2 separate regions of the Homo sapiens genome follow, and region 1 is linked to region 2. Evidence: promoter capture Hi-C in 16 types of primary human blood cells and fetal thymus (Javierre and others, 2016). All regions are on one chromosome and are shown on one strand. Each heading gives the region's core, a stretch centred on a gene start or on the middle of the fragment in contact. The rest is flanking DNA. Distances are from core to core; before and after follow the strand shown.

The links. The method cuts DNA at HindIII sites, captures the fragments that hold promoters and counts their contacts. A CHiCAGO score of 5 or more calls a contact.
Region 1: a contact is called between a fragment that was not itself captured here and the fragment with the promoter of STRAP in region 2, in 9 of 17 cell types (non-activated CD4 T cells, naive CD4 T cells, total CD4 T cells and 6 more). The highest score is 8.2, in non-activated CD4 T cells.

Annotation. Positions count from the first base shown.
Region 1 is chr12:15,278,159-15,285,027 of GRCh38, forward strand. All of the region lies in intron 2 of LOC105369673 (a long non-coding RNA gene), which reads right to left. Among named protein-coding and RNA genes, the nearest start is that of PTPRO, 41 kb to the right of the region's middle. The HindIII fragment of the contact is 604 bases long and covers 3,473-4,076 here.
Region 2 is chr12:15,878,338-15,885,809 of GRCh38, forward strand. It overlaps STRAP (serine/threonine kinase receptor associated protein), which reads left to right and starts at 4,050. Exons shown (of 10, transcript NM_007178.4): 1 at 4,050-4,482; 2 at 5,204-5,339. The coding sequence starts at 4,371. LOC102724146 (a long non-coding RNA gene) reads right to left here and starts at 3,961. Exons shown (of 6, transcript XR_007063230.1): 1 at 3,443-3,961; 2 at 2,770-2,862. RefSeq lists a silencer at 1,058-1,352 and enhancers at 3,468-3,697, 4,008-4,127. The HindIII fragment of the contact is 32,342 bases long and covers 1-7,472 here.

The DNA.
Region 1 (6,869 bases), core at 2,525-5,024, 600 kb before region 2:
TAACACTGCACCGAGCCTTGAACCTGCCCACTGCCCTCCTTTATAATACTGAGCCTCTGCCTCCTTCCCCTTGAACTTCAGCCCTCAGGCTGAGGCACTTTTCTGATGTACAAGGGTCTTTTCAAAGCTTCTTTTCAGCAAAGATGATCCCTTCCTAAAAATAATTTCTGTGCCAGTTATCATAAAGATTAATAATTTTCTCCACATTATAATGTCTATATGACTATAACCGCATACATTATTACATATAGAAATGTTTTTAACATGAAATGGAATCATATGATCATATCATGCATATTGTTTTCTGATTTTCAGTTGCTCCTCAATTATATATTTTGTGTATCTTTCCAACTTATTAGAAATAAGTCAAACTCATTTTTTTAAATTACTGAATAAAATTAGTACTTTAATGTGAGACAAGGTCAATTTCTTTGTGCTGCAATTTTGTTATTGACAAGATAGAACATAATAACACAGAGTTATAATGAGAATTCCTCAGCTACAATATTAGAGACCTTCAGTTGCTTAGAAGAAGTGAGATACTTAAATAATAAAAATTACATTAGCTATATAAATAATGCTAATAAAAGTTGCTAATATTTCATCAGCATTTTTCTATGTGCCAGGACCTATTCATACTCATTTATATGCAACAACTCATTTAATCCTCATAGCAACCCTATGAAGGAGATACTATTATTATTCCCATTTTATAGATGATCTTTCTGAGTCATGGGAAAGTCAGTAAATTGCTCAAGGCAACATAGCCAATAAGTGACATTGCCAAAATGCGTGAGTCTGGCTCTAGAGTCTGTGTTGTTAATCACTAAACCATCTATCATCATCTCCAACAGGAAATACTTTGTACAGGCTTGCTTGCCAGGGACCTGAACTGGCTGTCGTTGACCAAATTTAATAAACGTGCTCACTGCAAGTGGCGCTCCAGCTGATCCTGGCTTGGGGCTCTCTGCACTGCTCCAAATCAGGCAGCCAGGCCAAAAGAAGATATGTAGAGTCCATGGGGAACAAAGCGAGGCAAGGTCTGCTGAGCAAGGCATGGCTTAGAGGGAAAAGTGGGGTTGTGGGGAGAAGCTACAAGGAGACAGAATAAAATAATGAAGAGGAGTGCTGCCAGGCACCTGGCCCAGCTGAGGAAGCCTCTGAGGTGCGCATGCCAAATCTCAGCAGCTCCAAGCCCAGCTCCCAGAATAGCTGGAAGGAGGCACACTGCCAGCGAGCCACTTATTACAGCCAGAGCTGGGAGCACTTAATCAGATGCATCCGGTTTGTGTTCACAAGATATTAGGCGGAAATATGTGGTCAACTGCAATGAATTGGCATGCCCTGTAGTGGGCCAGCCATTGCCGGAAGCCATGTCTCCCACAAATTGAAACCTAATCTTTCTCTCCTCTAAGTGCCTGCCACAACTAACTGATTATGTACATTTAATCTCTGTCTGATATACTATCTAAGGAAGAGGAAATATTTCTTTTTTGTGATGGCTCTATGGAATTGAGAGTGCATAAAGCTAGTAGGACCACATACATGGAACACCCAGGGCAGGTATCCATCAGATAAGGCCAGTCTCCGACCTCCAGCAGGTTACTACACAGTGAATGTCACCTGATGCATCAGGCCCAGGAAGGCTGGCATAGAAAACGTGAAAACATCATGGAGAGGGTTAAGATGACCCTAAGGATTGCTGCCAGGAATTCCCACAAATGACATATCATTGTTGCTAGTTGGCTCCAAAGTCCTCCTGAATTAAGAGCTAACAGTTGGCGATCTCAGTGTATTTGGGGTGTTTACTATTCTTTTGAGTATTTTTTTTCTCCTAAAATTGCATTGCAGACACTCCTGGTGTCCTGTCCAGATTCCCTTACCAGGCCAGTGCACTCATCAACCAGTCGCTGTGACTGTTCCAGAGGATTGCCACCTTACCAGGACATGACTGGAAAAATTGTACTAATCCCACAAGTGTCCTATGGCCTGTGGCAGACTGAAGTGAGGTTACAACAGTTCAGCCACCTCACCCATGGGCAACGCAAACTTTTTATTGCATTTAAACATCAAAATTCCTTGGGGGATCAGTCTGAAGCTAATATTCTCCTAAAACCTTGATTTACCTAGCTTATCTTGCCCTATCTTGCTTCCCTTCCTCCCCTATAGCTTTGTCCTGAAAGTGTTCCCTCAGTAATTCACCTGGACAAAAATCCCTGCCTCAGGCTCTGCTTCTCAGAACCCTGGCCTAAAACAGCATGTAAAATCCTTGTCAGCAAAGACCTTATAGTAAACACACGCCACCAGAGCAATACAATGCAGTTTCCCCAATCTCAGCTATTCATACACACTGCCTACATTATTTTCCCATATTTGCATATTGCTTATACAGCTATTTACCTAACAGTTGTTTGTAAGTAGTTTTCAAACTAACTCCTTTTTCAAAAAACTAGCCTTACCCTAAAAAAATCATAATTCTGCAACCCTGATTTTGAGGCACTAATGAGATTTACCAATTACACAGTGAAATAATGTGTGTATATACATTTACATATGGGCATTAATCTATGTATAACTTAAAATTATTCCATCTTTCACCATGAATTATATGTACATGAACCACATCTTTAAAAACATCATAAAATGAAAAGCATGGTTTGTAAAATCTGTTATTCTACTTTATAGTACTGCTACAGAGCTATCTCATATTGAAGGTAGAATAAATTCTTGCTGATGTTTCTAAATTCAATAAATACTTTTAAATTTTCTCTTAGCCCATGATCTTGCCAATAGTTCTAAGGGGGATGAGTGAAACATGACGTAAAAAGAGGAAAGAAGTATCAATTTTTTAAAATAAAGAAATAATTAAAAAATCCTTAGCATTCTATCTTCAGTGCTTAGATTTTTCTGGGATCATCTGCTAATCTGCTCCTGTCACACAGGAACACTTTACTCAATGATTGAATTGACAGTGACTTGCAAGGAAAGAGGAGCTTCCAGAAACTTGAATTTCCTATTGCAAGGATGATTATCTGACATCATGAAACTCAGATACTCCTTTCAGAAAAGGAAGAGCCATTGGCAGCCATTATGGCAGGTTTTGGACCATACAGGAATGCTTGACATTGCACATTTTCCTCCAAGTTGTAGCAATGAGTTAAACCGCATGACCCTCACAAAGAGTATTTCAATGTGGAAGGTAAAAAGCCAACTGTCAACAAAATACTTTAGAGTCAGGATTTTGATTCTCATCTCCAGCGTAATGTCTTTTCTGATCCATTCATCCTTCATACATTCTTTTGGGAACAATCTAGTACTGAGGAAGTAGAAGCCTAAAGACCACAGTATCTTGAAATACATGCTTTGCACAGTTGCAAAGGTTGCCAAAATCATACATTTCAAACCTGACAGGACAAGTTTAAAATTAGACACTACAGAAACATTGCACCTCTAAATCAGGGAAATGAGTGCAAGCTTGGTATTAAAAAAACCTACTTAACTGTCATAAAATTCTTTCCAAAACTAAAACCTGTTCTTTAGAAAGTAATTCTTCATGTTTTTATCCACCTGGACATGCTTCATTGAATGACAAGATCTGCTGACAGCAGAACTTCAGCTCCATTAATGTATCGATTAATATATCTGTGCATAGAATTTCCTGGTACTGGGTATAGGATTTCTCTGATGCAGGAAAGTACATCAATTTGGTCTTATTCTTTAACTGGCAAGGAGTTTTCTTTTACAAGAGATTTGGTTATATATTCCAGTAGTAGTTACATGAGTTTAATTTTTTTAAGTGCAATCCCTATATGTCCCTTCATTCTCAGAAGGTTTTCTTCTTAAAGGCTCGTTATTGTGACAGTAGTTGCCTGAGTGATCTGTCTGCTTCCATTACTCAATAGCTATAGCCTTAGGAGTCTAATTCTGTCCTTTCTTGTAGCTCTCTAATTTAGCTGAGTGTATCAACAAGAGACATTATACCTTAAAGCCAAGCCAATCCTCTCTCCATGGTGGAATGTGGACCAAAATATAAGAACTTTTAATTATATATTTTAAATTTAAAAAATAAGAAAGTAAGCTTTTCTAACACATCATATATGGATTTATACTGGTGTCCTAATGTATTCATATGGAAAAGAAGCAAGTGTCACATATGGTCACCAAGGCATGCTGGGAGAAAGGCAGAAATTCTAAGTATAGAGGAGGGGTCAGTGCTGGCTTCATGCCATAGACTTCATGCCATCTTGCAAAAAACATGGACTAAACATAATACCAATAATTCACAGACAAAGAAAAATTGGCAGAAACTTCCATTTCTAATTTGATCTCTTTATAAGCACATCAAAAGGTTGAAAACAATGAGGATGTAATTAGATAAGACAGGAAGTAAGCCAAAATGATTTGAAATTATCCAGGCTGTTTGAATCTCATGCTAGGTGTGTTTGCTGCTTTGAAATGTTTGCAAATGATAATGTGGAGCCATCATGATTAGTGAGACGTTTGGGATCTGAGCATCCAGAGAACGCACACAAACATTTACAATTTTTTTCCAGTGATGTTTCAAGCTGCATTAAGCCCAATTTGCTGACCTGTTCAGGGAGAACTAGTGATTTTCAGTAATGTGCTACCCAGAAGATATATTTCTCAAAATAAATATATAATCTATTCCTTCAAGGTAAAGGTGAGTTTTTTTTAACAAAGAGTGAGAACCTACCTGTTTTTTTTTTGTTTTTTTTTTATTATACTTTAAGTTTTAGGGTACATGTGCACATTGTGCAGGTTAGTTACATATGTATACATGTGCCATGCTGGTGCGCTGCACCCACTAACTCGTCATCTAGCATTAGGTATATCTCCCAATGCTATCCCTCCCCCCTCCCCCCACCCCACCACAGTCCCCAGAGTGTGATATTCCCCTTCCTGTGTCCATGTGATCTCATTGTTCAATTCCCACCTATGAGTGAGAATATGCAGTGTTTGGTTTTTTGTTCTTGCGATAGTTTACTGAGAACGATGATTTCCAATTTCATCCATGTCCCTACAAAGGACATGAACTCATCATTTTTTATGGCTGCATAGTATTCCATGGTGTATATGTGCCACATTTTCTTAATCCAGTCTATCATTGTTGGACATCTGGGTTGGTTCCAAGTCTTTGCTATTGTGAATAATGCCGCAACAAACATACGTGTGCATGTGTCTTTATAGCAGCATGATTTATAGTCATTTGGGTATATACCCAGTAATGGGATGGCTGGGTCAAATGGTATTTCTAGTTCTAGATCCCTGAGGAATCGCCACACTGACTTCCACAATGGTTGAACTAGTTTACAGTCCCACCAACAGTGTAAAAGTGTTCCTATTTCTCCACATCCTCTCCAGCACCTGTTGTTTCCTGACTTTTTTAATGATTGCCATTCTAACTGGTGTGAGATGGTATGTAGAAAGCTGAAACTGGATCCCTTCCTTACACCTTATACAAAAATCAATTCAAGATGGATTAAAGATTTAAACGTTAGACCTAAAACCATAAAAACCCTAGAAGAAAACCTAGGCATTACCATTCAGGACATAGGCATGGGCAAGGACTTCATGTCCAAAACACCAAAAGCAATGGCAACAAAAGACAAAACTGACAAATGGGATCTAATTAAACTAAAGAGCTTCTGCACAGCAAAAGAAACTACCATCAGAGTGAACAGGCAACCTGCAAATTGGGAGAAAATTTTCGCAACCTACTCATCTGACAAAGGGCTAATATCCAGAATCTACAATGAACTCAAACAAATTTACAAGAAAAAAACAAACAACCCCATCAAAAAGTGGGTGAAGGACATGAACAGACACTTCTCAAAAGAAGACATTTATGCAGCCAAAAAACACATGAAAAAATGCTCATCATCACTGGCCATCAGAGAAATGCAAATCAGAACCTACCTGTTTTTAAAGGGACTTGTCATGCAAAATATATTTGAGAACTGCTATCAGCTAATGTTTGGATCACTATGTGATTTTGTTGCTGAAAATCATGTCACTTACGAAAACTCTCATATCTGCATGCTTAAAAATACAGCCATAAATTTATTATTTAACCTATATCAAAAATATCCCAAATAGTTTTGATGGATTTTGAATATTTTTAAAAATAGAAATACAACATATTACTACTTATTTTCAAGAGTGATCAACATCAGGGAAAATAGAAATACAATAACTGAATTTTAACGAAAACCTTTGTGTAATTGATGGGTGGAATATAAAAATCAGTATCATAATACAATAAGCATAGACAACTCTGTACTTCATTTATTTAGTTCTCTAAATATTTGAGGATATTTTAAAAGATATGATAGCCATTACAATCAATTTCTAAAATGAACAGAAATGAGAAACTTCCACTTCTTCCAAAAATGGACTAATGGAAAACAGATTTACCATCCTACTTGAAATGGGGGGAAAAACCAGAGAAAATAAATAAAACCAAGATTTTCATGACATTGGACATCAGGCAACAAAAAACAGTGATCCATGACAAATGGGAAACAAATAAGATAAGCCTCAGTGGATTCCAGCTTACTGCCTTCAGAGAAATTCCAGGCAGCAACTTAAGGAGGGGAAACATGGACAGAGTCAAGTGAACTCCCTGAATTGAGGGAATAAGCTGAGAGTCCATAAAATCCAAGGTGGCTAGACTTTGCAAAGCAGAGTAGCAGAAAAGAGAAAGCTACAAAGTGAGAGGACCCCAAAGACCTGCAGAGGATACATCCTCAAGCGATAAGTAGAATGCTCATTAGTGCATGTATGTGAGGAAATTACCCAGTTCCAGGGAAGAACCACCTGAAAGGATTAGAGAGAACAACAGCCAGTGC
Region 2 (7,472 bases), core at 2,800-5,299:
AATTAACAGCATTTGCAGTGACCTGGATGAGATCGGAGACTATTATTCTAAGTGAAGTAACTCAGGAATGGAAAACGAAACATCGTATGTTCTCACTGATAAGTGAGAGCTAAGCTATGAGGACGCAAAGGCATAAGAATGATACAATGGACTTTGGGGACTTGGAGGGAGGAGTGGGAGGGGGGACGAGGGATTAAAAGACTACACATATGGTGCAGTGTATACTGCTTAGGTGATATGTGCACCAAAGTCTCACAAATCACCACTAAAGAACTTACTCATGTAACCAAATACTAACTGTACCCCAATAACTTATGGAAAAATAAAAATAATAATTTTAAAAACGTCATTGCCCCTCCCCCCCAAAAACTGGAACTTTTATTTGCAATTGTATTGAAACTGTAAATCATTTTGGAGATGTATTTGTTTTCTAGGTCTGCCATAACAGATGTTGGTGGCTTAAACAATGGAAATTTATTTTCTCACAGTTCTAGAGGCTAGAAGTCCAAGACTAAGGTCTGTAAATTTCCTTTCTTCTCTGAGGCCTTTCCCCATGACTTGCAGATGGCCACCTTCTCACTCTGTCCTCATCTGGTCATTCCTTTGTGTTGTCTGTGTCCTCATCTCCTCTTCTCAATAAAGATAACTGTTGCATTGGATTAAGGCCCACCCATATGACCTAATTTTACCTTACTTATCCAAATACAGTCACATTCTGAGATAGTGAGGATTAGGACTTTAACATAGGAATTTGGAGGAGGGGAACCCAATTCAGTCCATAACAGGAGAGCACTGATATTTTCCCAAAATTGAACCTGCCAACCCACAAACACAATATATCCATTTTCCATTTATTTTAATATTATTTAATGCCTTTAATAGAGAACGATACATTTTGCTGAGAGGCATTAAATAATATTGAACATCATGTTGGGTATTCCTTTATTTAACGAGATCCCCTTTTCTCCTTTTTGTACTATGGTTTAAGTCCTAGAAGGTTGACATTTATGGACCCCATTAAAGGGCTCCCTTGTCTTCTGGGCTCTGGCTGGGTTTGACCAATGGGAAGCATGGGAGATCTAAAAGTAGATATTCATTTCCCCACTTCTTCCCCATGGCTGTGCTGATGATAATTGGGAGCAGTTGTGTTCTTCTACTGATTATTCCAGCTCTCGCCCAGAGCCTTCTCCTGCAACCGTACCTTTCTCAAATAAATCAGGTTCAGATAACTGCTCCCTTTCAGTTTCTCATTCAGATCTATGGTTAGTGCCCTATTTTCTCCTTGTTGTTTACTTTTGATCCTGGCCACACTTCTGTAACTAATCCCTTCATTACACTGCTCTCAACTTCTACATTTCAGCGTGCCAGTTTTTTTTCTGCTGGGGAGTACACTTTGTTTTTTTATTCCTATGTACTTTATAATTCTTGATGCTATTTAACATGGCATATTTTAAAATTACATTTTTTGTTGTTGCTAATGTATAGAAATGTGATTTCTTCATTACACTTAAAACAACAACAACAACAACAACAAAACCCAGTAACCTAGGCATCGCACCCAGCCTGGGTAACATAGTGAGACTTCATCTCTTCTAAAAAAAGAAAAAAACAACTTCAGTAACCTTTCTAAATTCTCTCATTAATTCCAATAATTTTTATTTTTATTTTTTTCTTTTGAGACATGGTCTTACCTCATTGTCCAGGCTGCAGTGCAGTGGCAGAAATTGGGCTTATTGCAGCCATGAACTTCTGGGCTCAAGCGATCCTCCTGCCTCAGTGTCCCGTGTAGCTGGGATCACAGTAGTGTACCACCATGCCTGGCTAATTTTTTTATTTTTTTGTAGAGCCTGGGTCTCACTTTGTTGCCCAGACTGGTCTTGAACTCCTGGGCTGGAGTGATCCTCCCATCTCAGCCACCCAAAGTACTGGGAACTGGAATTACAGGCATGAGCCACCACACCTTGCCTCTTTTCTTTGTATATAACCTCTAAAACAATTTCTAATCACAGATTTACAACTTTCTTTGGAAGATTTATGCATTTTTAAGTTACCTGAACATCTAGTACGATGCTGTATTGAAGAGGCAGTAGCAATCATCTGTCTCGTACCTAATCTAATACAGAATGCTTTCTGTATTTCACCATTAGGTGTGGGGTTTCAGATATTCTATGAGGTTAAAAAAGTCCCTTCTATTTCTAGTGTCTCAGAATTCTTATAAGTGAAAGAATGCTGAATTCTATCAAAAACTTCTTACACATCTTTTGATATGATTTTCTTTAATCTTTTAATATTGTTAATTATATCAATTACATTAACCTGTCTTCTAATATTAAATTGACCTTGAAGCCTACCCAATTGGTCATAATACACAATACTCTTAGAACTCAGAATCCAAATGAGCAGGAAATAATACATTCTTTAGAGCCAAGTATGTACCATAACTTACCAATTATATTCTTATCTACACACAATGAGCAATAAATGAACATGTATCAGTATCTGACCAGTTGTGTCATTTTGAGTGGGTCTTTTATTTACCTCCATCAGTAATGCAACAATCTATTTAATCAGTAAACAGTCATGCTGAGTATTCACTAAATGCCATTCACTTTTCTGGCACTAGAGTACAAATGACAAAGCCATAACCATTGCCATTAAGGAGTTCATAAATGTGTGAGTGGTGCGTATGTGTGAGACAAAAGGGAGAGGATGGCACAAAGGAGGAGTCGAACAAGATAAAATGAAAAACATATATAGTAAGTGCTTTACCGTAAGTGAATGAACGAGAGTACTAAGGAAAAAGAATGGAGACGTATTTCAAGTTCTCACGTTGTTTGACTCGAATCTTGTAGACGGTGTTTGCTGCAAAAAGATGAAGAAAACATTCACAGACATTTATGTTGATTACATATTTATTGCTATGTGCCCAGACGTTTTGACCTTGGGGATAAAGTAGCAAAGAAAACACAAAAATCTCTGTTGTATTGGGTTTACATTCTATCAATAAAGATACAACTTGCCCAGAGAAAAGCCCTCTCCTGGTTAGGAAACAGTATCAACAATTAACAGCTCTGGTGGTTTCACAGAGCCACAGTGGGCTGCCTGCTGCAGACAATATCAGAGTTTGTTTATATTTAAATATTATTTTAATATTTCTATTTTTGTCCATGTATTATAATGCACATCTATGTAATTTGCAAATCATCACTCATATATACATCATATCAAAAGGTGTAAAAGTTTTTGATAGAATTCAGCATTCATTCGCTTATAAAATGAGTGAAGGCTCACTTTACGGATGAGAGTATTTCATCAAAAAAATTGGGGATCTACGACTCTAGAGTTCTCCGAAGTCCACCAAGGAAAAAGTAACTTGAATTTAATCGCATTTAAAACTATATAGTATCCACTCCTAAAACATTAGCAACATAGGAAAACTTACACAGCGGAAGAAATGACTGGGGATTTTTTTTTTTTTTTTAATACATGGTCTCGCTCTGTTGCCCAGGCTGGAGTGCGGTGGCGCGAGCACCGCTTACTGCGGTGTCGACCTCTCGGGCTCGAGTTATCCTCCCACCTCAGCCTTCCAAGTAGGTGGGACCACAGGCACCACCACTCCAAGCCCGTATATGGTTTTTAAATAAGACAAATTGCAAAAAACGTTGCCAGACAGCGTTCGCTGGTTTGGGCCGTCACTGGGTATGGCTCGTGTCCGTCTAGATATTCAGAGGCCGAGCACAGTCCTCAGTAGGGCTGCTCGGCAGGTACACAGCTGACGCTGGTCCTTGGACTTATGGGAGTGGGAACAACTTTCAACTCGGCCGCGGACCAGGAAGGCGTTCTGACCCGCTAGAGCTCGGGGACAGGGACCCCATCCCGGTGCCTAGAGCGTCTCCCTTAGTCGGCGTGGGCCAGCGCCAGTTACCTCACGAGCACTGAACTAGCGCCTGCGCCCTTCTATACTTCTCGCTCTTTCTTCAAGTCACTTCTACCCGGCGAGCCCGCCCTCCCGCCAATCGTCATTTCCGGCGGGTGCTCTGCGTCATTTACGTCGTCACTTCCTGCCGATGCCGGTGTGGACGCTGTGAATCGTGGCTGGCCCGGTTCTCCGCTTCTCCCCATCCCCTACTTTCCTCCCTCCCTCCCTTTCCCTCCCTCGTCGACTGTTGCTTGCTGGTCGCAGACTCCCTGACCCCTCCCTCACCCCTCCCTAACCTCGGTGCCACCGGATTGCCCTTCTTTTCCTGTTGCCCAGCCCAGCCCTAGTGTCAGGGCGGGGGCCTGGAGCAGCCCGAGGCACTGCAGCAGAAGAGAGAAAAGACAACGACGACCCTCAGCTCGCCAGTCCGGTCGCTGGCTTCGCCGCCGCCATGGCAATGAGACAGACGCCGCTCACCTGCTCTGGCCACACGCGACCCGTGGTTGATTTGGCCTTCAGTGGCATCACGCCTTATGGGTATTTCTTAATCAGCGCTTGCAAAGGTGAGCAAGGCCGCAATCCTGGTCCTCGACGGCTGGGACTGGGCTGAAAGGGATCGGGACCCGCACGCTCCAGTGCCGAAGCGGTGGTGTGGTGAGGGGGGAGGGGGCGATATTAACATCTGAGATGAGAGCCAACACTGGTCCGGTGGAGAAAGGAGTGTGTTAGGGAATCCGCAGCTGGAGCCGAGAGGACGCTTTTGTAGAAACTATTACCTCCAACTAAGACCTCTCTCCTTATTTTATTTTTATTGCTATTTTTGAAGGAGCTGGTCAGCATTTGCCTAGACTCTCGGGACAACACGGTAAATAGCTTTCAAGGATTTGGGGAAAGGAGAAATTAGGCCAGGCCGTGCAATACCTTACAAAGACGTTCGCTCTTGTCTCACTGGATATTCCTTTGTGGTATTAGCCTCATTTTTCAAATGGGAAACTGAGATTCAGGCTAAGATGTCTGTCCAAAATAAGACTAAAATCTAGATTGTTTTGACGCAGATCAGTATTCCCAGCCAATTACAGATGCTTTTCAGAGAGAATGATCTGTTCAGCTCTTCAGTTAATTTATTACTGCACATTCCTTAGTGCCTTCAGTGGGTGGTGGTAGTTAAATAGCTGAAACAATTTTTCCACTTTGTCATTGAACATCATTGTATATTTACATTTGAATCTTAGACTTTAAGTAATCTGAACTTATAAATTACATGTTTTAAAAAATATTTTCTAGATGGTAAACCTATGCTACGCCAGGGAGATACAGGAGACTGGATTGGAACATTTTTGGGTCATAAAGGTGCTGTTTGGGGTGCAACACTGAATAAGGATGCCACCAAAGCAGCTACAGCAGCTGCAGATTTCACAGCGTAAGTGTAGCCAAGATGGCTAACTTTGGTGTTCTCTGTAGCTTGTGTCCTGAAATAATCAAAAACTTCAGTGTCAGATATTCATAAAATTCTGACTCACTGGCTGCCATACAGAACGCATGTTTGATCCCACCAAAATTCCATCGTGGTCCATCGTGGTCCTGTGTGCTTCTTTGTCTTCAGTGGTTCTCAAAATTTTCAGAGGCCTAAATGACTTATTCCGTATATTTTGATTGAGACTCAGGAATCTGCATTAACAAACGCACCAGATAATGAATGTTGATCTCCTTTACGAATGCTGCTCTGTGTGTACTCCTTAGTGATATCCTACATTGATGGCCCTAGGTTTTTATTTCAATCCCGGTTTTTGTTAACTGGCTTTAGGCATCATTAAAACTCATTGTGTCAAAAACAAACAAACAAAAAAACAACAAAAAAACAAAACTCAGCTGCTCGTCATTTCCTAAGTTTTTAAAGGTTGAAATCTAAAGCATTCTTGATTTTCCCTTATATCTAGATTATCATCATCTTTTTTGATTCTGCCAGCGGGATGTCTCCTGACTCCAATGTTCCTTCATGTAGTAACTGTGGCTGCCTTAGTTCAGGATCATTTTTAACTTTCAGTAGTTTCTTTTCCTCCTATTCATTTTCCATATTGTTGCCAGTTGTCTTCCTAAAAACATACTTGATCATGTCACTTCTCTACTAATGATCTTCCTGTCTTCCCTTTGCCATTTTAGTAGTTCATGACCTTTGATGTACATTAGAATATCTGGAGAGCTTTTCAAATATTCAAATGGTATGAGTCCCAGAAATTCGGATTTTTAAAACTTTTTTTTTTTTTTACTTTTTTACTATATATTTATATTTTATACTTTTTACTACATTTAAAAATATTTTTTAATACTTTTTACTATACAGACAGTATCTAGCTATGTTGTCCAGGCTGTCTTAAACTCTTGGCCTCCATGCCTCAGCCTCTCAAAGAGCTGGGGTTACGGGGGTGAACTACTGTGCCTGGTACAGAAATTCTGGTTTGATTGGTCTGGGGATGGAGTACTGGTCATACTGATTATTGGTGTTTTTTTATTTTTCTTTCTTCCTTTTCTTTCCTGATGTGCAGTCATAGAATTGCTGACCTAAAGGACACATTTCAATTGTTGGCCCTTTACAGTTTGCTTCATCCTAGTTCATCAGCATCATCCTCTGCCATTGCACACCATAAACCTACAATCTAATTATACTAATCTTATTGTTGCCAGAATATACCTTACCTGTTCTGACTTTTGGCGGTTAATTATGTTATTAAACTGACTTGCAGTGGCCCTCGTTGCCTTTTTGGGAATGTATCATATTTTATAAATCTTGTTATCTCCAGTTCCTACTTGGTATTTGTAACTTAGGAATTTGACACTTCATTGTTTAAACTGATGAAGGCAATATCAAGAACTGTTGTGCATACACAGATTTATTAGACTTAAGAGGCTAGAGAGTACAAGTGGTGTTTTTTTTTTTTTTTTTTTTTTTTTAAAGACAGAGTCTTGCTATGTCCCCAAGGCTGGAGTGCGGTGGCACAGTCTCGGCTCACTGCAACCTCCACCTCCCGGGTTCAAGTGATTCTCCCACCTCAGCTTCCTGAGAGGCTGGGACTACAGGTGCACGCCACCACGCCTGGCTAATTTTTGTATATTTAGTAGAGACGGGGTTTCGCCATGTTGGCCAGGCCGGTCTCGAACTCCTGACCTCAAGTGATCTGCCCGCCTTGGCCTCCCAAAGTGCTGGGATTACAGGTGTGAGCCACCGTGCCTGGCCTTTTTTTTTTTTTTTTTTAACAACCTCACACTAAGGAGCAATTGTAAATCTGCTGCCTCCTTCATTTTAAGTACATTAAACATACCAATTTTAGAATGAAAAAATGAAGGCTGATTGACTGTGGTGGCAGATACGTGACTGTATGCTCTTGTTTATTGAAACAGTGTTGTTTTTATGCTTTCTTAACATTTCAAGTCTCAATGTCTGTGTTTACAAGTGGTGTATTAAGAGCATGAAGGCTGGAGCCAGATGACCTGAATTTGAATTGGTGGCCTCATGCACTTTATTTAACCATTTTTTTTTCTGTCATGGTACCTAATT